Regions from separate parts of the Homo sapiens genome. Here region 1 is linked to region 2. The links are contacts of gene promoters, found by promoter capture Hi-C in human tissues and cell types (Jung and others, 2019). All regions are on one chromosome and are shown on one strand. The core of a region is centred on a gene start or on the middle of the fragment in contact, and the rest is flanking DNA. Distances in the headings are between cores, read along the strand shown. Region 1 has its middle 30 kb from the start of LINC02181. Region 2 holds the start of C16orf95 (chromosome 16 open reading frame 95).

The links. The method cuts DNA at HindIII sites, captures the fragments that hold promoters and counts their contacts. A contact is called where the count stands out against the background at its distance.
Region 1: a contact is called between a fragment that was not itself captured here and the fragment with the promoter of C16orf95 in region 2, in 3 of the 25 tissues and cell types used here (IMR-90 fibroblasts, aorta and mesenchymal stem cells).

Annotation. Positions count from the first base shown.
Region 1 is chr16:87,086,645-87,089,371 of GRCh38, reverse strand. No RefSeq gene overlaps it. Among named protein-coding and RNA genes, the nearest start is that of LINC02181, 30 kb to the right of the region's middle. RefSeq lists an enhancer at 203-852. The HindIII fragment of the contact is 5,730 bases long and covers 1-2,727 here.
Region 2 is chr16:87,316,007-87,318,706 of GRCh38, reverse strand. C16orf95 (chromosome 16 open reading frame 95) reads left to right here and starts at 1,315. Exons shown (of 7, transcript NM_001195124.3): 1 at 1,315-1,616. The coding sequence starts at 1,465. C16orf95-DT (C16orf95 divergent transcript) reads right to left here and starts at 1,198. Exons shown (of 2, transcript NR_135180.1): 1 at 985-1,198; 2 at 664-850. RefSeq lists an enhancer at 1,288-1,737. The HindIII fragment of the contact is 14,678 bases long and covers 1-2,700 here.

The DNA.
Region 1 (2,727 bases), core at 14-2,513, 230 kb after region 2:
AGGATTGCTTGAGCCCGAGAGGTTGAGGCCATAGTATGCTGAGATTATGCCACTGCACTTCAGCCTGGGCAATGGGAGTAAGACCCTGTCTCAATTTTTTTTTTTAAGCCAACTTTGTAAAATACGAAAAGGGGTTTATTTTGAGCCAATATGAGTGGCGATGGCCTGAAGGATGGTCTCAGTAGGTCCTGAGAAAGTGTACCCAAAGCGGTCAGGTTACAGCTTAATTTTATACATTTTAGGGAGACAGAAGTTACAGGCAAAGACATAAGTCAGTATGTGTAATGTGTATATTGGTTTGGCCCAGAAAGGTAGAACATCGCAAAGCAGGGAGGCTTACAGGTCATAGGTAGATTCAAAGATTTTCTGATTAGCAATTGGTTGAAAGAGTTAAGCTTTGTCTAAAGACTTAAAGTCAGTAGAAAGTTCAGATAAGGGGTGTTGTGGAGACCAAGGTTCTTGTTATGTAGTTGATGCCTCCTGGGTAGCAGTCTTCAGAGAGAATAGGTGCTAAAGGTGTTAGACTTTTACTTAATCTCTCTTAAATCCAATAAAGATCTGGCTGCATTAATGAAGATTCTCTACAGATGCAAAAATTTCCCTACAAATAACTGTGTTGCAGGACCATTATAAAATATGTCAAGGAAATATATTTTGGGGCAAAATATTTTGATTTCCTTCAGGCTCTGCTGTTATGTGATGCTATACTAGAATCATGTTGGGATTTGATATGTTATTGCCGCAAAGAATATGTTTTGTCTGTCTCACGATCTCTATTTTAATGTTAATGCTGGTCAGTTGTGCCTAAACTCCAAAAGGGAGGTGTGTAACAAAGTGTATCCAACCTCCCTTCCTGTTAGGGCCTGGATTCCAGTTTTTTTTTTTTTTCTTTTTTTTTTTTTGAGACAGAGTTTTATTCTGTCCCCCAGGCTAGAGTGCAGTGGTGCGATCTCAGCTCACTGCACCCTCCAGCTGGCAGGTTCAAGCAGTTCTCCCGCGTCAGCCCCCCTGAGCAGCTGGGATGACAGGTGTGCAGCACCACTGCCAGCTAATTTTTGTATTTTTTGTAGAGACAGGGCTTCACCATGTTGGCCAGGCTGGTCTTGAACTCCTGACCTCAAGTGATCCTGTCAGAAGCATGTTAACCAGAGCAACTCCATCTTGAATAGAAGCTAGCTAAAATGAGGCTGAGACCTACTGGGCTGCATTCCCAAACAGTTAAGGCATTCCAAGTCACAAGGTGAGATAGGAGATCAGCACAAAATACAGGTCATAAAGACCTTGCTGATAAAAACAGGTTGCAGTAAAGGAGCTGGCTAAAACCCACCAAAACCAAGATGGTGTGACCAAGGATGGAACTCTGATCATTCTCACTGCTACATCCCACCAGTGTCATGACAGTTTACAGATGCCGTGGTAATGTCAGATGGTTACCATACATGGTCTAAAAAGGGGAGGCAGGAATAATCCACCTATTGTGGAGTATATCATCAAGAGATAACCATAAAAATAGGCAACCAGCCACCCTTGGGGCTGCTCTGTCTATGGAGTAGCCATTCTTTTATTCCTTTACTTTCCTGATGAACTTGCTTTCACTTTACTCGATGGACAAGCCCTGAATCCAAGAACTGAGTGAGATCCAAGAACCCTCTCCTGAGGTCTGGATCGGGACCCCTTTCCTGTAGCAATCTGCCCTCCTTGGCCTCCCAAAGTGCTAGGATTACAGATGTGAGCCACTGTGCCTGGCCTGGAATTTAGTTTTTCAGGTTGCTATGGGGTCCTCTTGGCCAAGAGGGGGTGTCCTTTCAGTTGGTTTGGGACTTAGGGTTTCATTTGGGGTTTATGTGGCCCAACGAAGCAGGTGAGAACACCCAATGAAGAAGGTGAGAGCACCCTTGGGCGCCTGAGGGACAACATCTCCTTGCACCCTTCAGCTGGCTTGAGATCTCCACTCCATGGTGATTGAGCTCAGTCTCTTGGGTTTGGGTCTCAGAACTCCACTCTGCCTCCTGAGGGCTCTAATCCCACCATTTCCTCAGTGACTGGGAAGGTCAACCCCTTCTATTTTGTCCACTCTGCCTTCCCTGTTTGTTTTTAAATAGACTTAATGTTTTAGGGTTGTTTTAGGTTTACGGCAACATTGAGCAGAAGGTACAGAGATTACGCTGTTTTCATCTCCTGGTTTCTGTTGATGCGAAGGTGCACATCTACCTCCTCTTAGCTCCTGGATTCTACCCACTCAGAGTTTCTGTTTCTCCTAACCTCAGTTAGGCATGACTCCTGAATGTCTGTCTTTTAACTTTTCCTTCTTTGCTCCTGTCATCAACTGATTAATTCTTTCTTTTTCCCAAGTAAACACCCTGATGGGTGCCTCCTATGAATTGGCAGCGCTCTATTCAGGAGCCCAAAATTAACCCAGTAAATCATGGCCTCAGTGACTGCAGGATTAGGAACAGGGTTGCCTGGGGTCTGTGGGTATTGCATACCTTGTGATTGACTTTTACTGTAGCCAATTGAATTTCACATTTAGGGAGTTGTATGCTTCCTCACTCTAGCAGCATAGTAGCCCTGGGAAACAGTCTAGTCATGATTATCTGGATATGTGAATTTTGGGATGATCCCTTGGCTGACTTTCAGCAGTTAGAGGCAGAATTGCTGATGCCCAGGGGCAGGCTTTGGGTGATGGTGTTGTTGGTGGATGGGGAAAAATGGTGAACTCCTGATTCT
Region 2 (2,700 bases), core at 66-2,565:
ATTCTTGGGTGGGTGAGGGCAGTGAAGAGCTATTCTTGACATGGAATGACAAGACCTAGTGTGCCCGAGGTGAAGGCCTGAGCGTCCAGGGGAGCATGAGCCTGTCTTCTATGCCCTGCTGTGCTATGGCAGTGTTTCAGTGTGCTCTGGAGGAAAACAGCAGAGAAGCCGAGTGCTCCAAAGTGGGCAGAAATGAGACAGGCATAATGTGCTAGGCTAATGGTGACTCTTGGAATTTTGTCATTAGCTACAAAGAGGGCAGTGACATGATTTACACACACACACGGGGTGGGGTATCTGAAATATTAGGCAGCTAGTATGGCAGGGGCACCGTCTAATCAGCATGGATGCTGGCCAGGAGAGGACATGTGTATGTGCTGGCTGGAAACAGTCCTGCTCATAGGTCACGATCTTAATGATTAAATAACAAGGCAAGAAATCCGAGAGGGCAGTGCCTGGGAGCACCCTGTTTGCTCTGTGGCCAGAACGCAGCACACTGAAGTATTGCCCATCAGGGTAAGAGGTGCTCGTGATGGTTTGGGCAAATACAAATATTAATCCAGAGTATTTGAGTCTACATGAAAATACTGAAAAGTGAGGGAAGACCCAACCGTTTCCAAGAAATACAAATTGGAACTGGCGATAACTTAAAGAACATAATCAGAGAGGCAGAGGGCATTGGGTTTTACTAAAATATGAAGACATACGTCCTGTCTCCACGTCAGCAACTGCCCAAAGTACACGCGTTCCAGCGAAAAGAGCGGGTGGGGTGGGGAGGCTCAGGGCCAGCCAGAGCTTCGGTGCTTGCACGCCCAGGCCTCCGGGTGACGACTGCTTCCAATTCCGCGCCCTTTAAACCCCATGTTGTTAAAAAAAAAAAAAAAGAAAGAAAACCTATTTCTCTAAAAGTCACGATTCGAGCCCCACCTGAGGACGCAGCGATCCAGCGCCAACTCATTATCTGAGATAAAGGAGTGATTTTACCAGAAGCGCCTATGCAAGACGCAGGGCCCCGCGCGGGCTGCTCCCACCTCTTTCTCTCCTTGCAGGCTACCGAGACCCTGGCTGGGGCGGCCGGCGGCCCCTCCGGCCCATCCGTCGGAAATGATGAGTGGCTCCAGTGGCCGGGGTCCGCAGGACCTACCCCAGCGGGCATGGCGGGAGCCCCGCAGCCCCACACAGCCGCGCTCTGAGCCGCTGACCCCGCGTCTCTCGTGAGGGACCAATCAGCTGCCAGCTAAGGTCACATACCTAGAAGGCCAATTTTGATTGGCTGGGCGCGGGCTAGTCAGCGGGACGGGCGGGCGCGCGGGCGTTGTTGGGCTCCTCTGAGCGGTTGAGGTTGGGGCTGGGGTTGAGCTCGGGTTGGGTTCCTCCTGGGGCAGGAGGGAAAGGCGGGAGCCAGGGCGTCAGGGCCTGCGGACGATGTGTGTGTGAAAGGGCGCGTCAGCCATAAGAAGCCATATGCGTGCGAGCCGGTCCCCACCGTCCCCGCGGCGTTGTCACCATCATCATGAGGCCACTGGAGCAGCCTCAGGCGCTGCTGCCGGGGGGCCGGGCGCGGGGTGCGTCGGGCTCTGCAGGTTGGCACTCACACCCAGCGCGCAGGATGGCAGGCAAGTGAGTCCTGAATCCTGCCCGCGGCTACCCGACACCTCGCCTGTGAGTTCCCGGCCCGGCATTGCTCCATGACCTATGCACAGGCAGAACTCTTGACCGCCACCCACAGGAACCTCACTTACATTGGCTTAACAAAAACGCAACTGATGGTTCCACATAACTGAAAATGTCAGAAGTAGGCCTTCAGGCATGGATGTATCCAGGTACACATTGACCATGGTCCTGGAAGGTTTCTCTCCATCTCTCAGCTTCCTTCCTTTTTGCTGGCTTCCCTTGTGGAGGCAAGATGATCACCAGGACCTCCTGAGGTTTACATGTTATCAGATTATCAACCTCAACAAAAAGGAGATTCTTTTTTTTCCCAGCTTTCCAGGCTGGGCAGTGGTGAGTTTGGCCCACCTGAACTACAAGGACTGAGATGGCTGTGGCCCCCCCCCTCCCCACCAGGAATATAGCAGTGCTGTCATTACCAGAAGGGGCCTCGGATGCTGTGGAGGGCAGTGCCCCATCCTCTGTTTTCAAGCATTATCTGGGAGAGTTGATGCGTGAACCTATTACTCTCACAAAAATAGCAATAATAATAATGGTTATTATGACAATGAAACCCAAAAACACTTATATCGCTCTTACGGTTTCCACATACAAAGCACTTTGACCCACTACTGTCAGGGAAGCAGGGCTTTGCACCCACTGGAGACGCTTCATCCAGCCAACATTCAAGCAGTTTGTTGGGGAGTGGAACAGGGAAGAGCCACACAGGCTGTGTAACCCCAAGTGCTTTGTCATCCCAGAGACAAAGCACCCGGGTTTTTATAGTGGAAGGAGGTTCATTAATGGACAGTTTGACGATGTTTTTTCTTCAGTATTTCAGTAAGTTGAGGGTGTCTGACAGATCATCCTAGGTGATGTGATTGGCAGCTACATGTCTTGGAAAGTTCTCAGCAGGTTGGAATGCTCCTGTCTTTTCTGATGCTCCAAGCACAAGTGTAGCTGGAGTCAGCTTGAAGCTGGTTGGCTTGGGAATGCAGGATTCCATGACAGCCAGCCCCCAGGAGCCCCTAGACATTCACGCATGAGCTA